Regions from separate parts of the Homo sapiens genome. Here all the other regions are linked to region 1. The links are contacts of gene promoters, found by promoter capture Hi-C in blood cells and fetal thymus (Javierre and others, 2016). All regions are on one chromosome and are shown on one strand. The core of a region is centred on a gene start or on the middle of the fragment in contact, and the rest is flanking DNA. Distances in the headings are between cores, read along the strand shown.

Region 1 (3,925 bases), core at 630-3,129:
CAAGTAAAATAACCGATGCAATTTCCTTGTTTACTTAAAGAATTGCAGAAAACATGTTGACTGCTTCTGAGGCTTCCGAAACAAACGAATTTTCAATACGTAAAAGACTTCACGATCATGTTTGATATGTAAGCGTAGTAATGATTCCTTCAGCTAGTAAAAATCTAGTTTTAAATTGATTAAATGGGTTAAATTTACACTGCAGCTCATTAGCATACCTTGTTTGCAACCAGAAGGAAGAGGGTAAAGAGAGGGAGAAAAGCATCAAAAAGGTAGTGATGGAAAACATCACTACCTCCTTTGGCGGTTATGAATAATTTAAAATGACCCAAGACGTAAGGGGAAAAGAGTTCATGAATAGAAAGAAAGGGGGCTAACAGTCTGAATTGGCCCCTTCCAGATTCATACTGATGTCGGAGAGGAAAAGGAATTTATTTACACTGCAGTGCCTTGGCAGCAAACATGGCTGCCCCTGCCCCCTTTAAATCGAAATAATCTTCACTCCCTCCCCAAAACCATCAAATTATGGCCATGTCTCTCCCTGCCTCCCTTCCATAACACAAACACATCGCCTTCTCCCTCAAAACAGTAAAACCCACACCTCCCCATTTCACAACAATCACAATCCCATAACCACCAGCTTCTCTATTCTCTAGCCTTGAAAGAAAGACACAGAATACACACAAATACAGGAACAAAAGGCCTCCCTTCCTAACACTTTAACGACCTCCATCCCCTTCTCTTCCTCCCACTCTGACGCTAAGTCGATCGTTCTCATCCCTGTCATCATTCAGTTAATTTCCTTCCCTAGCCCAATCCTGTCTTCCAGTTTCCTGCGTCTATTTCCCATTCTCCTATTGCAGCCTGCCTCATCCCCTTTCCTAATCCACCTTTTCCTTCACTTCCATTCCTCATTTCTCCCTTCATTCCCATAAAATGCCCCATTTCTCCAGCAAATTTATCCCCTTCTCCCAGACTCTTCTGGTTCCTACACTCCATCCCCAAATCTCCCTATTTATCAGTCCACCCAGGTCTGTAATCTCCATGCAACTCTTCTCCCCTTTCCCTGCCCCTCCCCGATCCATCCTTATCCCCGCCCCCATCCCACTTTCCCAATTCCCAGCTCAGCGCCACTCCGACTCCCATCCCACTCCCCACCTCCCCTGGCCCACCCCCCAATTCCCTCCACACCCCCCACCTTGCCATCTGCTCCTCCGTCAGGACTCCCCTCGAGCCCTTTCAGGCCACCCGCTTCCCCTTCCATTCCTCCTGGGGTCTGGCGCTCCATCCCTAGGTCGCCCCCTCCCCGTCGTTCCCTCCTCAGCCCTTCCTAGCACTACACACGCGCGCGCGCGCACACACACACACACACACACACACACATACACACACGCACACGCACTTTACCTTCAGTTTGTTCCATTCTAACCCCCCGGCCGTGTCAGTGCGATCACAGGAGAGACACGGAGGCCCGGAGTGGGGCTGGGGTGCGGGCAGCCGCTGGGGCCGCGCGAGGAGGAGGCGGAACCGAGCTAGGCCGCATGAAATCCCCGGGCTAGATTTTCCCCGCGCCGGACGCCTCTGCCATGGCGGCCGGCACTGAGGAGGGCCACGGCCGGGCCGGGCCGGGCGTGCTGCGGGAAGAGGAAGGCTCGGGAGGTGGGATGGGAAGGGGAGGCCGAGGGACGGGGGTCGCCGCGCCGCCGCTGCTGCCAGAGAGGAGCCTGCGGCTGGCAGCCCGGCCTGGGTAGCACGGTCCTCGGCGCTCGGCTCGGAATTCGCACGCCTCTCCGCGGCGACCTGTGCACAGCCCCCTCGGCCTCCGCCTCCGTGCTGGCCGCCGCCGCCGCCTCTCCCGCCGCCGCCGCGCACAAAGCCCCCCCACCCCGACTCTCGGGGCGCCGCCGCCGCCAAATCCTCAGCCCCTCATTGGCCGCGGGCCGCGGCGCCTGCCGGGAAATGCAGTCCCTGGTTCGGGACGCTGGGGCTCCGGAGGAAGCGGCGAGTCGGCGGGGCGGAGGGGGCGGGAGCGCGAACCAGGAACGCCCGCGGCAGCTAGCGTCTGGACGACTAGGGAGACCGGGCGAGAGGGCCGAGGAACGAGGGACGGGGAGGGACTGTACGTGGGAGAGTGACACACAAAACACCCCGGGAAGCCGGAGGAGGCGTGGAAAGGTGGGGCCCGGGAGGTAAAACTGGGATCGGCGCGTTCAGTGAGGCTGATTAAAGAACAACGCGCAACCAGCGCCATACGGCGCTCCTCAGGGTGACTCGGCTCTCTAGCTCTTAAGGGTTAGAAGCGACCCTCGCACGGTCCCCGGTGGGTCACCGCGCGAGGGCGGGGCAGTCCAGGCGACCCCTCGGCCGTCTCCCGTCCTACGGCTGTCAGGGAAGGGCTCCGGTTCCGGTAGGGTCTGCATTTGGAAAGCCGGGGGCGATGCAAGACCGCCTTGGCGTCGTCTCCCTCTCAGCCCCGGCTGAGCTGTCGGATGGTCCCCCTCCCCCGGTTGCAAGCAGTAGGAGACCCGGCCGGCGGCGCCGGCTCGCCGAGGGAGCGCCTCGACCTCCCCGGCAGGCGCCGGCCCCGCGCGCCTCTTCCTGCTCTGCTGCGGCCCGGAGGCTTGTGGGTAACCGGGAGGACGACGTCAGCGCCCGCCGCATCCCCGGGTGCCCCCCAGCCGCGGGGGACCGCGACGGCTCCGTGACCGTCACGTGCCGGAGGCCGCGGCTGCTCGCGGCCAGACCTTCGCATCGAGGGACGTGAGGGACATTTGTCCTAGAGGGCCCAAGATAAGAACGAGAGGAAGAACCGGGAGGCAACTCTCCGTCATCCTCTAGCCCCCCGCATCCTAGGAAACGTATGGAAAACAATGGAAGGTTAAGTGTGTGCACAGTGATCTGGCCCTGCAGGAGTGTGCCGACCAGGTGATATTTCCTGGGGCCTGGTGATAAGGATTTGGAAGGTTACAGCACAGAGACGTGAACGTAAAAAGGAAACAGAGGCAGCAAGCAAATGAGGAAACCGATACTCTGTTCTGAGAATAAAGCCATTTTACCGCTAGACGTCATACTCTGTAGACGTTATAGTGCTGGATGTCTTTGGTACTATTACAAGAAATTAGATATCTCTATCTTTAAATATCACTTAAGGAAATTAAATGATTTCTACAGATCAGTTATTTAAAAGGGCACTAATTATGAACTATTTTTTTTAAACGTAACCCGGTTAATACTAGATACTGAGAATTATCAGTATTGGCTGGGCGCAGTGGCTCACGCCTGTAATCCCAGCACTTTGGGAGGCCGAGGCAGGCGGATCACGAGGTCCGGAAATCGAGACCATCCTGGCTAAGACGGTGAAACCCCGTCTCTACTAAAAATACAAAAAATTAGCCGGGCGTGGTGGGGGGCGCCTGTAGTCCCAGCTACTCAGGAGGCTGAGGCAGGAGAATGGCGTGAACCCGGGAAGCGGAGCTTGCAGTGAGCCGAGATCGCGCCACTGCACTCCAGCCTGGGCGACACAGAGAGGCTATGTCTCAAAAAAAAAAAAAAAAATCTCATTACTATTAATCATTAAATATTTTTAAACGTATGCTTTAAGTAGTACCACAAGTTACAGCTATCAGTAAAAGCATACTTTTTATTTGTGATATGACATTTTAAAACACAGATGGCCAAAGCGGGCCACCAAGTCTAGCTTAATTCTATCTCCAGGAAAGAGGGATTAAATTGGTCTTTTTTTTTTTTCTATGAGCCTTTCTACCTCCATTCTTCTTTTTCTTCCTCCTGTGTCTTCCTTGCTTTGTTGATAAACTGTTGCCTTGACCCGGCACCTGGGTTTCTCCCTTGAGGAGAATCTAGTAAATTGTCCCCAGGGATCTTATATTAGCCTGTTTCTAATAGCTATGCTGACAGCAAGAGTTTA
Region 2 (3,925 bases), core at 705-3,204, 560 kb after region 1:
GGGCACACAGGGCTTCTAAGAAATAGGACTGATAATGCCTGTTTCTTAATCTGGATGATGAGTACAGGGTTTTCATTTAATTATTATTTTTTAAAAATGTAGACATATGTTTAATGTACTCTTTATATATGAGAAATTTCACAATAAGAAATCTTCAACATTGTAAGACACATATTCATGTTTCTTTTATTTCTTATTTGATTTAGGTGAGCATAGCTACCCCAAAACAGAAACCAAAAACTCCATTTTGCTTTGGTAAGTACTGAGCCAGGGGAGGGACTCATTTAATATTGACATGGCAACTTCCTCTTTTGCATGGAGACAGTCCTGTGATCACATGTGACTATACCCTGTGAGTATGAGTGACTTAAATCACAGTGACGGTCCTGGACGTCAAGTGATATTGTTTTCCCTGGTCTTGCTGCAAAGGTTGTTAATAACATAAGGACAGAGGTTCAGGGACTAGTAACATTTCTGTTTTCTTTCTTTTTTTTTTGGTTTTAGTTTTATTTTTTAAGTTGACAAATAATAATTATATATATTCATGGGGTACATAATGTATAGAGTAATTAGCATATCTATATTAGTCTGTTCTTGAACTGCTATAAAGAAATACCTGAGACTGGGTAATTTAAAAAGAGAACAGGTTTGCCCGGGCCTGGTGGCTCACACCTATAATCCCAGCACGTTGGGAGGCCGAGGCGGGCAGATCACCTGAGATCAGGAGTTTGAGACCAGCCTGGCCAACATAGTGAAACCCCATCTCTACTAAAAATACAAAAAAATTAGCTGGGCGTGGTGGTGAGTACCTGTAATTCCAGCTACTCGGGAGGCTAAGGCAGGAGAATCTCTTGAACCCAGGAGGCGGAGGTTGCAGTGAGCTGATTTCAGGCCATTGCACTCTACTCCACCTCAAAAAAAGAAAAAAAAAAGAGGTTTAATTGGCTCAGTGTTCTGCAGGCTCTATGGGGCCAGAGGAGAAGCAAGAAAGAGAGTGGGGAGGTGCTATGCATATTTAAATAACCAAATTTCACAAGAACTCACTATTATGACACAACAGCATGGGGGATGGTGTTAAACCATGAGAAACCGCCCCCACGACCCATCATGATCCAGTCACCTCCCACCAGGCCCCACCTCCAACATTGAGGATTACAATTGAACATGAGATTTGGGTAGGGACACAGATTTGGGTGGGGACAGAGATCCAAACCATATCAATGTCCATCATCTCGAACATTTTTTTCTTTTAATAATTGTCCATATGCATTTCAGTTTTCTTGATGCCACAAGGCAGGTGCAAAATGTCCACTATAAGTTTCTGTGAACCTTATTTTAGAGCTGAGAAATGTTGTGCTCAGAAAAGATGGAGGACTCAGAGGAGACGCAGATGGCAGTGCCAGGAAGGGGATAAGACAAAGGAAGGAGAATTCTGTTAAGGGTCTCAGTTGCCCAATAGTGACATGTTGGGGGATGGTGTAGGAGGCAGAGTCACCGTGCATGGGTGCCTCAAGTCAGGAAGTGGTCAGTGAATTCAGTGAATCCATCATCAAATAGTTACTTGGCTCCTACTATGTTCTCACAGCTGTGCTAAGTGCTATGAGCAAATGCTAACAAATAGTTTCTGTTGCCTATCTGGGGTGGTTCTGAATGTAAGTTTCACAAAGGCAGGGGTATTCCTCTGCCTTGTCACTGTGGTATCCTCAGCACTTAAAGATGTTTCCTAGCGCATAGTAGGTGCTCAGTAAATATTTGTCAAATGAATGAATGAACGGATGAATTCTGCATCTACCCCATGAGACTCACCTCCTACAGTTCAAGCTTATGCTAAGAGAATAAAGTATTCCCTTGAGCGATTCTGTCTCCCCACCTCAGATTTGTTCAGACTTCTTTGGCATGCTCATTCTTCTATTTCTTGCAAATTTCATAGCTAAGCTCAGAAATGACTCTCACGTTTTGTGGTTATCAGATCTGAAAATATATATATGTAATAATAGTGAATGTGGAAGTAAATTGTTGACCTAATGGAATGCTCAGAGGAAAGAACAGGTTGAGAGTGAGGCCAAGGTCACAGATTTGATCTCAGGAAAGCTTTGTTCTATTTCCCAACCACAGACAACTCTCCCAGTCCAGACCAGTTGTGCCAGAGGAGACCAAGCATGGGTCCAAAATTCTGTATATACCGTGATGACAGTAAATGTATTAGCACCGCCAGAATGCGGTTCACAGTTGTGTCTTGTTGACGGCAGACCAGCAGCCTCATCACCGCAGAACAGCACACTGAGGCTGCTGTTAACATGGTCAGGTGTTGTTCCTGTGGCCAATGGGATGTTTTTAAAGGTGGGAAAGAGAGTGAGCAGGTGTGGCCTGGGGCTTCCTAGATATCCAGGCAAATGACTTAGCATCATGGGAGATTTCTTGTTCTGCTTTGTGGAGTTCACTCATCTCACTCCCTCAAACACCTTAGCTTTGTGGAGACTTGTTGTATTGCTTGTATTCTGACCTAGGAATGTCTTCCCTTCTTTTCTGTGGCTTTTGTAGTTATCAATGCCCTGTCTCAGAGATATTTCCTTCAAGCCAATGATCAGAAAGATATGAAGGACTGGGTTGAAGCCCTGAACCAAGCCAGCAAGATCACCGTAAGTTTGGTTTCTTCTGTTTTCTGGTGGTAGTAAAAGTGCCTCTTCCCAGGCTATGGCCTTGTTGGGGTTGGGGAAAACTGAGATGGCAGCGGGGACTTTCCCAGGAGCCTGGTCTGTACCCAGTTCTCTCCCACCTCGTCTTTTTCCTTGGCTGACCAAACACAAGTTGAACTGAGAGTCTGAGTTTGAATCAAGTTCAAGGGGAAGTTCATGGAGCGTCCCCTTTGTGCTTCCTGGGAGGGCTCCCGATCAGTCATGTTTCGGGTGATTCTGGGATGCTGATTCAGAATGTGGTAGGATTGGAAAATGGATTGGTGACTGTGAAAAGTCAAGTAAGGGGAAAAGCATATGGGGAGGGAAGTCAGAACTTTTTCCCAGCTTGGGGGATACTCTTCTTACTTTCAGAGGCTGCCTGCAGGGTCAGTCCAAGCCATCCGCCTCCCTGTCCTAGAAAAGCCTTCTGTTTAAAAGCATCACAGAGCTCGTTCATGGACTGTCCTACGAGTGTGCTCTTTTTCCTTGAGTTGGCTAATGAAGAATTCCTTTCTTTTTCCTTAGAGATATAGAAAAAGAAAGGAAGAAGGGTAGGAAGGATGGAGAGGGGAAACTATGTTTTGGAAAAAACTAGACTTTTAATCAATAAGACAGGCAGACTCCTGGCTTATATAGATCATGGCTTCTTTGCTGAAAAGTTTGTTTCTGTATCATACAGTCAGAAATGCTTATGTTTGAGGGGCTTCCAGTAGTGACTATTACATGCTGCAGCAAATTATCCTCCCAGATTTCTCAGGGTTCCTGTGAACAACTGTATAGAAGAAATTTGTACACGTATATAGTATTCATATTGCTAGACCCAACCTGAGTGTAATTGAGTCTCCTATAAGCACTTTTGCTGATTAGCTTCTTATTCTGATAAACCTTGGTAAACCCGTGAAAAGAGAGAGTGATGAAAAGAGAGAGGATGGATGGCTGGGTGCAGTGGCTCACGCTTGTAATTCCAGCACTTTGGGAGGCCGAGGTGGGTGGATCACCTGTGGCCAACATAGTGAAACCCCGTCTCTACTAAAAATACAAAATTAGCTGGGCGTGGTGGCACACGCCTGTAGTCCCAGCTACTCAGGAGGCTGAGGCAGGAGAATCACTTGAACCTGGGAGGCAGAGGTTGCAGTGAGCCGAGATCGTGCCATTGCATTCCAGCCTGGGCGACAAGAGTGAAACTCCACCTCAAAAAAAATAAAAAATAAAAAAATTAGCCAGGCCTGGTGGCTTACACCTGTATTCCC
Region 3 (3,925 bases), core at 723-3,222, 550 kb after region 1:
AATACGTAGTTGCTTTTACTTTCCAAAGGCCACGATATGACTCATGGATCATCAAATAACCAAAAAGATTGCATGGCTCTTAGTACTCCTGGGGTGCCAATGAAAGCCCTTTGCTTTTATTTAATTTTTTTAAATAAACTGAAAGCAGTTCTTTCCATTGATGGGGTGAAGAGCGTTAGCAGTGTTGGTAAGAAGATGGATATTTGGTGCATTTTAGTAGAAAGCATACAAAGTTATGGGAGGAGGTTATAATAACACATAATGTATAATGGACAATACTGTTGTCTTAAAGGCTACATGAAAATTGGTGTTTTTTTAAAAAAACGTGAAATTTTCCTAAGCAAATTTTGGCTGAAAGCCAGGAATAATTTTTGCATTGTATGCTTCAACCTGTCAGAATGCCAAGAACCAGGAAATAATGTTCTTTAAAAATTGGGCAATAGATGCACGTGGTGCAGAATTTGGAATGTAGGAATGCAGAGTTAGTGACAAATTTCTCCCTCCCACTTCTGTCCTCTCAGCAGGGGCAGCCAGTCTTGACAGTTTCTTGTGTCTGTCTGGAGATAATCTCTGCCTGAGAGACTATCTCTTAAGATCATGGTAACTTTCAGATCTTCAGCAAATTGTTTGGGCAAAGTGTCTTCAATTCATGGATTTTGTGTAATTGATATCTTAACTATCCATGTAGACTTGTGATTTCCAGGAGTCAGTGGAATATTTGATGTGCTTTTGTCTGTAGTGTGTTAGAGTAAGAACGCAGAATCCTTTGGTAAAAAAAAAATCCCAAAAGAAGATTATAAGTGACAAATCTGTACTTTTACCAAATGCAAATTTTGCTAAGGGTAAAAATATTATTAAAAAGTACTTTTTTTTTTTTTTTTTAGAGACAGGGTTCTTACTCCGTCTCCGAGACTGAAGTGTAGTGTGCAGTCAGAGCTCACTGCTGGATTTGACTGGGCCTGGTCAAAACATGCTTAGAATTAAAATTATATGTGGGCTTTTTGAGAGCTTAATGTAGAATTAGAAACTGCAATTTTGCTTTATGTGTTTTCTGTAGCCATCATATTTTTTAAACAAGTTGTATCTTTATAACAGGATGTACTTTGTCTAAATTAAAAAAAATTAAAAACTAAGCCGGGTGCGGTGGCTCACGCCTGTAATCCCAGTACTCTGGGAGGCCAAGGCAGGCGATCACCTGCGGTCAGGAGTTCAAGACCAGCCTGGCCAACATGGCGAAACCCTGTCTCTACTAAAAGTACAATAATTAGCAGGGCATGGTGGCAAGCTACTCAGGAGGCTGAGGCAGGAGAATCGCTTGAACCCGGGAGGCAGAGGTTGCAGTGAGCTGAGATCACGCCATTGCACTCTAGCCTGGGTAACAAGAGCGAGACTCCATCTCAAAAAAAACCAACCAACCAAACAAACAAACAAAAAACTAAGTAGCACATTGAAAGAATTGTGTTAAGAGTTAGCACTACTCAGTATTAAAGTCCAAGCAGCTAAACAGATAGAAGCTATGAAACTTAGCAGAGGTTAAATAACTATTGCAAAACCATAGTGATGACTATTCTAAGTTTTCTCAAAACTTCTCTTTGGTATGTTGTTGTTAGATTTTGCTTTACATTTTAACCTTCAACATTTGTTCAATGTATTTATTATATACATCTCTTTCTATATTTATAGATCTAGTTATATACCAAAGAATGGTATGACCAGACATGGTGGCTCATGTCTGTAATCCCAGGCCTGTGGGAGGATCACTTGAGGCCAGGAATTTGAGACCAGCCTGGGCAACATAGGAAGACCCCATCTCTACAAAAAATAAAATAAAATAAAGAAATTAGGCAATCGTGGTGGCATATGTCTGTAGTCCCAGGTACTTGGGACGCTGAGGTGGGAGAATCACTTGAGCTCAGGAGTTAGAGGCTGCAGTGAGCTGTGATCAGGACACTGTACTCCAGCCTGAGTTACAGAGCAAGACCCTGTCTCAAAAAAAGTCATTTTATTAATTTATTATCTAAATAGTGTCTCGAAGGCAAAGGAGGTTGGTTATTGCATGTTTGGGGGAGGGGTTCATATTAGATTTTGCTTCAGAGACCAGTTTTATTAGTTATATCAATTGAGCACAGGACAACATGATGAATATATTCATTAAGGAAACATCCATTTTTTGAGCCTCCTGTCCTCATCCACAGTATATGGTAATGATATCAATGATCTCCACCTGTGACATTGTTGCTGTGAAGAGTAAATAATGTATGTGAGAATGCTTTGATGAGCTCTAAAGTGCTACAGATGTTATCTGTTAAGAAAGTTTGTTCTGGCCAGGACATCGGGATGGATGGGGAGGTGGGGAGAGCTGGAGCTGGAGATGACGGCTGGGGATTTGTCACAGAGCTTCCTGATATGCCTGAGGTGGTGGGAATGGAGAGTGGGGGGGCAGGTTTAGAGGCTACATGAGGGAAGAATGTTTGAAAGTTTAGTACCTGGTTGACTGGGGAGAGGAGGTGGAATTACTGACAGAGGCTGGGGAGGGGAGAGGGAAACCGATTAGAAAGTGGAGGGGAAATGACATTGAGTTTGAGGCTGGATTGAAGAAAGGGCTGATGGAGTTGGCTTATTGAGTTTACAGCTTTAGAAACATTTAGGTGGCCAGCAGTCAGAGTTGGGACCCAAATGCCTCCGGGAGATTATCTGAAGCCCAGGCCTCTGACCTGGTCTTTTTTTTTTTTTTTTTTTTCTTTTTGAGATGGAGTCTCACTCACTCTGTCACCCAGGCTGGAGTGCAGTGGTGTGATCTTGGCTCACTGCAACCTCTGTCTCCTGGGTTCAAGCGATTCTCCTACCGCAGCCTCCCGGATACCTGGGATTAAAGGTGTGCGCCACCACACCCAGCTAATGTTTGTATTTTTAGTAGAGACAGGGTTTCACCATGTTGGCCAGGTTGGTCTTGAACTCCTGACCTCAAGTGATCCACCCGCCTTGGCCTCCCAAAGTGTTGAGATTACAGGCATGAATCACCGCGCCCGGCCCGACCTGGTCTTTAAGTCTCTGTCACCAGAGTTGGAAGACGGAAATAAAGGGAATGGGGGTGTGGCTGAGAGACTTAACACACAATGAAACTTATCCTGTCTAAAGCTGATACTGGTGTCTGTCAACAAGAAATCGACATCCAAGTAATAGAATAAAAACATTAAGCCCACGCAGCAGAGGATGATATAGAATCGACTTCTCCTGAAGGGAAAGATTAAATACACACTTTGAACTGGAGAATGGGGAGAGTAGCTATCAGCGTGTCGTGTGTCCCCGCGTTAGCATCAGCAAGTGGACCTACAGGGCAGAGGGGAGGAGAGGTGTTTGGCCCTAGAGCAGCAGGTAGAGCCACGGCCCAGGTCACCTGGTGCCTGGGATTCGCTTGGCTCCCCTGCTTTGGTTGCTCATGTCAGGGTGAGGGCTTTGGAATGTGGGGCAGCGGCAGCTATGCTCCTCCTTCCCAGTCCTGTCACACCGTTCTCCTACATTCAAATGTCTACTCTGAGCTATACCCCCTCTGCAGGCACATTCTTTTCTGTGAGTCTACATGGCCGTGGCTTTTGGTGGCTGAGCTATGGTTTTAGCTCACAGACAGCAATGTCAGCTCATGCCCTAGCTCTGGGATTACCAGGGGCGTCCCCTCCCTCCGTCTCCTGCTAGCTGCTTTTTACTGTCTGCTGGACACCCCAGGGGCCTGTAAGAGAAGGTCAGATGGCACCAGCATCTCTCCTTCCTTCCCCCTTTCTGCTCTGAATCTCTGGTCTATTGGAGTTTGGCACCCAAGAGCCAGTTGGACAAGTTCCTGCCCTGCCCAGCTTGGGCAATGACACTGGGCCTCTTTTGGTGTAACCCTGCTGGTCCTGCTTTTGTATTTACCTTTCATTGATAATCA
Region 4 (3,925 bases), core at 845-3,344, 520 kb before region 1:
GAAGAGGGCGTCAGTTAAGTAGCTCACACAGTAGATATGGAGACACCATATGGAGATACGGAGTTAAGTTTGGTGGATACTAGGAATTAAGTTCTCCACCTAAGGCAATTAATTTTTCAGCCTTGAGAGATAATTAGTAGTTCTAGAAAAAGAAAAAAAGTTGACTGGGAGAAGGGTGGGAGGGAGGATGGTGCGTCATTTAACATTAAATTGCCTCTCTCTACAGTATGTGGCTGAGCATCATGGACCTTCCTCCCTCTGCCCCGTTGAGCTCCCACTGTTAGCAAAACTGAGAAGCACATGCCTGTGTCTTCTTCATACCGGCATGTGCACACACACCTGTATCTCCTTCATACAGGCATATGCAGAGCCCTCACCAATCGGGGTCCACAGCTGTTCAGTATGGCAAAGGGCAGACTTACTCCTTCATCCACTCTGCTGCCTTGATGAGGTGAACACACTGGAATAAGATGGAGGGCAGGATACCTGCCAAAGCCTGAGGCATGAGATGATCTGAAACAATTGGGCAAAGGCTGGACATTTCAAAAAGCTGACTTCCAACTGCAGTTTATGGGTATAGAATTTGATGCTTCCCTCAAGTCCTGACTGCTCTTTCTGAGGCAGCCAGGCTAGGCCAAGAAATGAGCTGCTCCAGCTTCTCCAGAGCACAGCAGCCTCCCAGGGCCTGTCAGCATCTGCAGCAGCTGGAAGGAGGTCCCAGCTCTTCTGAGACATAGGCCATTTGTAGGATTCTCCAGTGCTCCAATTCACTAATGTCTCCTAATGGCTCAGAACAGGCTAAAGCTTCTCCCAGATAACCCCTCCCCCAAAACTGAGTCCTCAGGGACAGTTGTTAACTGAATGACCTCCAGGTTATCTACTTTGGGAGGTGCAGGAATGCTATAAACTGAATTTTTTCCCAGCAGCAGCAGAAGCCAGGCACCCTTGAGTCAATTGTCCTTCATTGTCCAGAGCTACCAAGTGGCATTTCAGAGCACAGGAATTTACTCCTCCACCCAGATGTCCCTCTCATATGGACTGAGTCACACACCCCAGGTCCTAGCAGCAGACATCTCCAAACCAACATCCTTGTGAACACTGCAGATCTCTACGCCAGCTCTCCAATGGAAGAAGAACCACATAGAGCACACCTGCCCCCCAGGGCACTTGGACTATCACAGTAAAAATACATTTATATCAAGTAAAAAACATAATGCAGGACAAATATATACATGTACCTTTTCTTTCTTTCTTTTTTTTGAGACAGAGTCTCGCCCGTTGCCCAGGCTGGAGTGCAATGATGTGATCTCAGCTCACTGCAACCTCCACCTCCCTGGCTCAAGCGATTCTTGTGCCTCAGCCTCCCGAGCAGCTGAGATTACAGCTGTCTGCCACCACACCCAGCTAATTTCTGTATTTTTTAGTAGAGACGGGGTTTTGCCATGTTGGCCAGGCTGGTCTCGAACTCCTGACCTCAATCAAGTGATTCACCCGCCTCAGCCTCCCAAAGTGCTGGGATTACAGGCGTGAGCCACCGCGTCCAGCCATACATGTACATTTTCAGAGTTCAAGTGAACATACAGTTTTCTTTATAAGTATGTAAATAAATTTCATAGCACTACAAAAATACAAGTCATCTGAGAAGTTTACAGTGGTCCCAGTACTGTAGGAGAGAATTAAATAAAATAAAATAGCTGTAGATAATTAAAAGCTAATTAGATAAATCAAGTTACAGTATCATCCTTCAGATTAAAGTGCTCTGATATAACCAATGCCACAGCAAACGAAATCCTGGAAAGAGATTGCACTGCCAATGATTTTGTCTCTTAACCTCAATGTAACAAGGACACACATAAAAGAGATTCCTGATTTAATAACTGCTATCATCTTCACCCCCAACCACGCTATTAGCCTGTGATATTCTTCCCCTAGGAGAGATGTCAAGATTAGATGAGATTCTATCATAGCCAGGGAAAAAAATGAGAAATACCAGAAACATTCTAATTCCAGTCTTAAGTGAGTAACAACAAAATTACCTGAAAAATCTCAGCTGGTGCTTTTAGCTAAGAAGGAAGCAAGTGCCCTAGTTAAAAAAAAAAAAAGTCTATAAATCTAGTTTTAAAAATACAAATTCAAAAATAAGTATCATCTTCTTGCTCTGCACAGTTTTATAACAAGGGGGTAAAATGCTGGTGAGTCTATTCATGAGGGAAAATGGAAAAAAAGCAACCATTTGAAGGCTGAGGCACCTGTTTTCTACTGACTTTTAACTTTTATTAACTACATTAAGCCCTTCACTACAATTTCCCCAGTATCCCACAAATAATTTGGGTTTCCTTTTGGGCAGGGAGAGAAAGTGTTCAAAGGACAGACATGCAGATGCAGTTCAATCCCTTTGGGGTCCAATCCATGGTCTCCTGTCCCCTGTAGAGTGAAGGGGCTTCTTTTTTTCTTTTTAGTTTTTTTTAAGACAGAGTCTTAAAAAAATTGCCCAGGCTCTTTTTTTAAGAGTCTTAAAAAAACTCTTGCCCAGGCTGGAGTGCAGTGGCACGATCTTGGCTCGCTGCAGCCTCCATCTCCCAAGTTCAAGCAATTCTCCTGCCCCAGCCTCCCGAGTAGCTGGGATTACAGGCACGCACCACCATGCCAAGCTAATTTTTGTATTTTTAGTAGAGATGGGGTTTCGCCATGTTGGTCAGGCTGGTCTCGAACTCCTGACCTCAAGTGATCCACCCTCCTCGGCCTTGCAAAGTGCTGGGATTACAGGCATGAGCCACCACGACTGGCCTGAAGGGGCTTCTTCATCTTGGGGAGTTGGTGGACCCTGTCTCTGCCCCTTACAAGGAGTGTTGCTGAGGAAACCAGAGCACCGAGCAAAGGCACAGGGGGAAAAGGCCAAGCAATCGTATTGACATCATTCCACACCTGGAGAACTGTATTAGCGAGTGCGTGGACCACCCAATCCCCTAGCAAAGCGCTGAATAGGCTGGTCTAGCCAGCAGGAACCTGGCTGTCATAAGAGGAGGGGCTTTCACCAAGTTCCTCAAATTGAATAAAGAGTAATTCTTTTAATTCCTGAATTCTACTTTTCCTATCTCCAGTAGAAGGGCCCTGGATCTAAGCAGAAGGTATTTTAAGGCTAGAGAGTAGTAGAAGTCGATGTTTAGAAAAGGCCGCTTGTTCAAAATCTGAAAGGCATACTCAGAGGCTTTCTCTAAACACCTCTGTTCCCATCAAAAAACAAGACCCAAGTCTGAGAAGCTGGGTAGGTTTACATGGTATCAAAATTTAACATCTGCAGCCAAAAGCCACACCTGAGCTACTCAGAAGCCAAGAAAGTATGTGTATGTAACACAGCACCAATCGCATGGTCCTTTTCTCATTTAAAGCTTTCTCAGGTAAGCTTTAAGAGCTGGAGGATACATACTGAAAAAAAATCTCAGTATGAAAGAAAGAAAACCCCAGTGTTAAAATACATGAATACTTCCTGTGCCATCTGAATCTCTGGCTCAGGATCAGATCTTATGACCACATCTCTGGTGGGCATAAAATATTTACAACCTTGTTAAAGGCACAGTGGCATTTAAAACTAAAGCCTTGGGAATGTACAGTAAAAGATTAATTGTAATCATTAACCTGGCTTCCATTGGTAGAATTCACTCTTGCCGGATAACATGTGAGGGAGATGGTGATTCGGAGCCTGCTGGCTGGTTATCAGGCAAGGCAAGTCCTTGACCCCTGGAGCAGGTGAAAGTGAAGTCACAGAAACGTCTCGGTGTTTTTTTTCTGCTGATTTACATCTTTCCTGCTTTTTTGCCAACCTGAGTCGGGATGCGGAGGATATTGGGGGTTTCTTCCATGACCCTGACAAGCAGGTTGTCAATGTAGTCTTCCAGCTCGCGGACCTGGAACTCCTTCTTGCTTA
Region 5 (3,925 bases), core at 940-3,439, 510 kb after region 1:
CTCCTGACCTCGTGATCCGCCCACCTTGGCCTCCCAATCTGCTGGGATTACAGGCGTGAGCCACCACGCCCAGCCCATTATTTTGTACTTTTAAAAAATAATTGGTAACTCCTTTGTATGTGAGAACACAAGAATTTAGAAGTCAAGCAGGGAAGCATCGACTTCATTCTTTTCTACTGTGTGATTCTGAGATGCTATTGTTCTCCTTAAAACCTAAATTTTCCATCTGTAAAGTGAGATGAAAAATCTCTAATTCCCTGAGAGTGGGGGAAAAGGAATATTTAATTCTTTTGAACTTTGTACTGTGTATATATATTGCCTATTAACAAAATAATAAAAGGACATAAGTCTACGTGTCCAAATATCCTTTTTGCTTTTCTTTGTTTTCTATGGTTTATAATAATCAGCTTGTATTGGGAATCACTGATGTAAAAGTCAACCCACTTCACTGACTACCATAGGCATCTCTTGGAATAAACTGGCTAGAGTTTATTCTTGCTAATAACTTTGACTATATTCACCCACAAGTATTTACTAAGAGTAGCCCCTGTGTGGCCTCAGTACTGAAGTAGTGAATTATTTAACTAGTCTATAGTGAATTATTTAACTAGTCTAAGCAAAAATAAAGTCAAACAGTGCTAAAACATGGTCATAGATCCAAAGTTAAGTACCTATTCATTCTCTCACTCTGAACTGGGAAGTCCCAGTTCTTCCCTCTAATTGCAGGGCATCACTGAGGATGCAGAATTCCGAGTGGTGCACTACACTTATTCAAACTGATGGGAAAACAATGCCATCAGCATGAATCAATAGGAATGGTGCTCTTGGCCAGGAGACTGTTATTTCTGGGGACGGCACGCACACTCATTTCTGAGGCTGAGAAATGACACTATTAGTGTTAGACTTAGCAGTACAACAATGCTTTCCAAACTTTTTTACTAGGAAATAACTTTAGCACCAGTAAGTATGTATGTATATGTGTGTATGTATATATATTTATATGTATATCTCCTGTTTATATTTTACAAGTCTGATTTTATAAACTTCCAGATGTTCCACCAGAGTTTTCTCTTTTTTGATTTTACCTTATTACTGTCCTTTACTGCTGTTCCTCTTACTCTATAAACAGAAATTTCCTAAGCTTCTTCCACTCCCCATTTTCCTACTCTCAAGGCTCTGAGAATTTGAGCTAAGAGACAACCTTAAGTATTGGGCAAAGGTCACTGAACTACCATTCAGAACCCAGGGATTCAGATCATGACTGGCTGTGTGATTCTGAGATGCTATTGCTCTCTTAAAACCTAAATTCTTCCATCTGTAAAATGAGATGAAAAATCTCTAATTCCCTGAGAGTGGGGGAAAAAGAATAGTTAATAATTTATCATGAAGTGTTAGCTCTTTGGGATAAAAGTTTCAAATGAAATACGAGGATTTAAATCCAAAGGTATGACACTGATTTTTCAAATTTAGCATTGTCAGCACTTAACCATGTTTCCTAAAAGCATGAATTCACTCAATCCCAAATGCCATGGTATGAGACAGTTATCTGTCATCACCACCTTCCCCATTTTATAGAAGCACAGAGAAGTCACTGGTCCCTGGCTATTCAGCTAATTAGTGACAGAGTCAGGAGTCAAAACTAGGTAGCTGGGTGCCAGAGTCTAGTTACTAGGCAGCCAGTAACTACGAAATCACAGCCAGTTAACTTCCAACTGTGTCCCTTCCTTGCTCAAAAGCCTTCAGTGGCTCTTGAAGCCTAATAATAAGTACAGACTCCTTAGCTTAGCAATAAAGACACTCCAGCTACCTTTCTTTCCTGTTTCATTCCCCATGAAAATCCTTCCTATGTCCTCCCGTGCTCCAGCTCAACTGTACCAGCCACACTTCCCTGAATAGATCCCATGTGGTCCTGCTCTGTGCTTTGCCTCTGATCATCTCTGTATCTGGAATCCACCTATTCTCACCTCCTCTTCACTTTTCTACATTTTAACCTTTCTTTCAAGGTCCTTGCAAGGGGCCATGTCCTTCATGCATTTTCCCCTGCCCTTCTCAACCACAGCTGGTTGATAATCTTCCCGGGGAATTTTATCTCTGCTCTCCTCTGCATGTATCAGTTTCTGTACATACTATGTTCCCTCCTTAGTAAGAGATGAGCTCCTCGAAGGCTGCAATATTATTTTCTTCCTCATGGAACTTTTAAATTTTATTAAAAATTTAAGCCATTCCTGTTCTTTTTTTAAAAAAAAAACCAAATGCATGCATGCTTGTTGCAAAAAAAGAACCCTCACAGAATACATCTCTTAGAAAGTGAAATCCACCATTATCACCCCTCTACCCCTGCCCTAAGAGAACTGTGGTTAACAGTTTGGAATGTATTCTTATAGAGCTTTTTCATGCAAAAAATTATTTACAGAAATGGAATTATACTACATGTAAAGCTCTGTACTTTTTTCACTTAAAATGTATAGTATTTTTCATATAGATATCTACCTCATTCTTTTTTTTTTTTTTTTTTTTTTTGAGACAGCGTCTGGTTCTGTTGCCCAGGCTGGAGTGTAGTGATGGAATCATAGTTCACTGCAACCTTGAACTCCTGGGCTCAAGTGATCCTCTTGCCTCAGCCTCCTGAGTAGCTGGGGCTACAGGTGTGCACCACCATGTCCAGCTAATTTTTAAAAATCGTTCCCAGAGACAGATCTCGCCATGTTGACCATGTTAGTCTGGAACTCCTGGGCTCAAGTGATTCTCCTGCTTTGACCTTTCAAACTGCTGGAATTATAGGCATGAGCCACCCCACCCAGCCCTCATTCTTTTCTAAGTGCAGCATAGCATAAGATTGTAGTGATGCACCTGTTCAATCCCTTCTTGATGCGCATGAAAGTGATTTCCAATTTTTACCATTATGACCAATGCTGCAGTGAATATAAATACATATGTGTGTGCATGTATTGCTATCTATATATCCATATAACTTTCTTTGGATAGGCAATTGCTAGGTGAAATGGAATGGAGATTCTAAATGATGATAAATATAGGAAGTGTCAGCGGTGGGAAGGAAGAGTCTTGTTTTATGCTTTTCTGCATCCTTCACAAGGCCTAACATTGCATCTACCAGTGTAGCTTGGTAGGTAAAAGACCAGGCTCTGGCCTCTGGCTGTCCAGGTTTGTATCAGGGCTTTATCTGTATGCCTTAGCCATCTCATCACCATAAAATAATGGCAGGGTCATTGTCATTATAAAGCTTAAATGAGATAATACATGCATAACAATTAGCAATTAGTAAGTACCTGGAAAACAAGTAAATGCAAGACATACAGAAGGAAAAATGGTAATGGGTTCAGATAATTGTTTGTTGAATGAATTGGACTGAATAAAACAATGGCAGTTTGAGCAATCATTCTAGAAATGGATGGTACAGAACTATTCATACTTTGCTATCAAAACCCATAGCAACTATTTATAAAATGACTGGCTAACATTAGAGGTGCAGTGTATAGCCCTGGAGCAATCCATCTCTGTGCAAAATGAACTGGCCTGAGCCAGAATCAAACCAATGACCTTGGCCTCTTTGGCCCCACACTTTCCCTAATAGAACTAACTGGCCCCAGCTGCAGCCTTATGTAATGGGTATCTATGAGGACAGAACAATAGTTCCCTGCAGGGTACACTGGCTCACCACTGGAGGTTGTTAGGTTATCTAGCTAACCAGCCATTAACATTGAAAATGAATAGAAAGTACATAAATAAATGCTTAGAGTAGTGCATAAGGTTTTCTGTTGAGATTCTTAGGTTCTAGGCCAGAAGTTTTCATCTTGGTGGCAAGGTTTCTATACCAATACTAGAAGATTCTAAGGTAGTCAACTCTGGGTTCTAGAACCAACTCTGCCACTAACTATTATAGCTTCAAAACCTTGAGCAAATTGTT

Evidence for each region. The method cuts DNA at HindIII sites, captures the fragments that hold promoters and counts their contacts. A CHiCAGO score of 5 or more calls a contact.
Region 2: a contact is called between a fragment that was not itself captured here and the fragment with the promoter of NSD3 in region 1, in 5 of 17 cell types (naive CD8 T cells, total B cells, total CD8 T cells and 2 more). The highest score is 7.9, in naive CD8 T cells.
Region 3: a fragment that was not itself captured here is called in contact with the fragment with the promoter of NSD3 in region 1 in 1 of 17 cell types (neutrophils); the score reaches 6.4 in neutrophils.
Region 4: a fragment that was not itself captured here is called in contact with the fragment with the promoter of NSD3 in region 1 in 5 of 17 cell types (neutrophils, erythroblasts, fetal thymus and 2 more); the score reaches 10.3 in neutrophils.
Region 5: a fragment that was not itself captured here is called in contact with the fragment with the promoter of NSD3 in region 1 in 3 of 17 cell types (total CD8 T cells, non-activated CD4 T cells and naive CD8 T cells); the score reaches 7.3 in total CD8 T cells.

The regions. Positions count from the first base shown.
Region 1 is chr8:38,380,392-38,384,316 of GRCh38, forward strand. NSD3 (nuclear receptor binding SET domain protein 3) reads right to left here and starts at 1,880. Exons shown (of 24, transcript NM_023034.2): 1 at 1,408-1,880. It also overlaps a transcript of LETM2 not described here. RefSeq lists enhancers at 403-937, 1,228-2,018 and silencers at 1,667-2,066, 2,097-2,246, 2,437-2,786. The HindIII fragment of the contact is 5,398 bases long and covers 1-3,925 here.
Region 2 is chr8:38,943,583-38,947,507 of GRCh38, forward strand. It overlaps PLEKHA2 (pleckstrin homology domain containing A2), which reads left to right. Exons shown (of 12, transcript NM_021623.2): 4 at 207-255; 5 at 2,542-2,639. Among named protein-coding and RNA genes, the nearest start is that of HTRA4, 29 kb to the right of the region's middle. The HindIII fragment of the contact is 270 bases long and covers 1,820-2,089 here.
Region 3 is chr8:38,925,517-38,929,441 of GRCh38, forward strand. All of the region lies in intron 2 of PLEKHA2 (pleckstrin homology domain containing A2), which reads left to right. Among named protein-coding and RNA genes, the nearest start is that of PLEKHA2, 26 kb to the left of the region's middle. The HindIII fragment of the contact is 8,936 bases long and covers 1-3,925 here.
Region 4 is chr8:37,859,101-37,863,025 of GRCh38, forward strand. It overlaps RAB11FIP1 (RAB11 family interacting protein 1), which reads right to left. Exons shown (of 6, transcript NM_001002814.3): 6 at 1-3,925. The coding sequence ends at 3,795. Among named protein-coding and RNA genes, the nearest start is that of BRF2, 11 kb to the left of the region's middle. The HindIII fragment of the contact is 2,585 bases long and covers 803-3,387 here.
Region 5 is chr8:38,893,588-38,897,512 of GRCh38, forward strand. No RefSeq gene overlaps it. Among named protein-coding and RNA genes, the nearest start is that of PLEKHA2, 5.8 kb to the right of the region's middle. The HindIII fragment of the contact is 2,100 bases long and covers 1,140-3,239 here.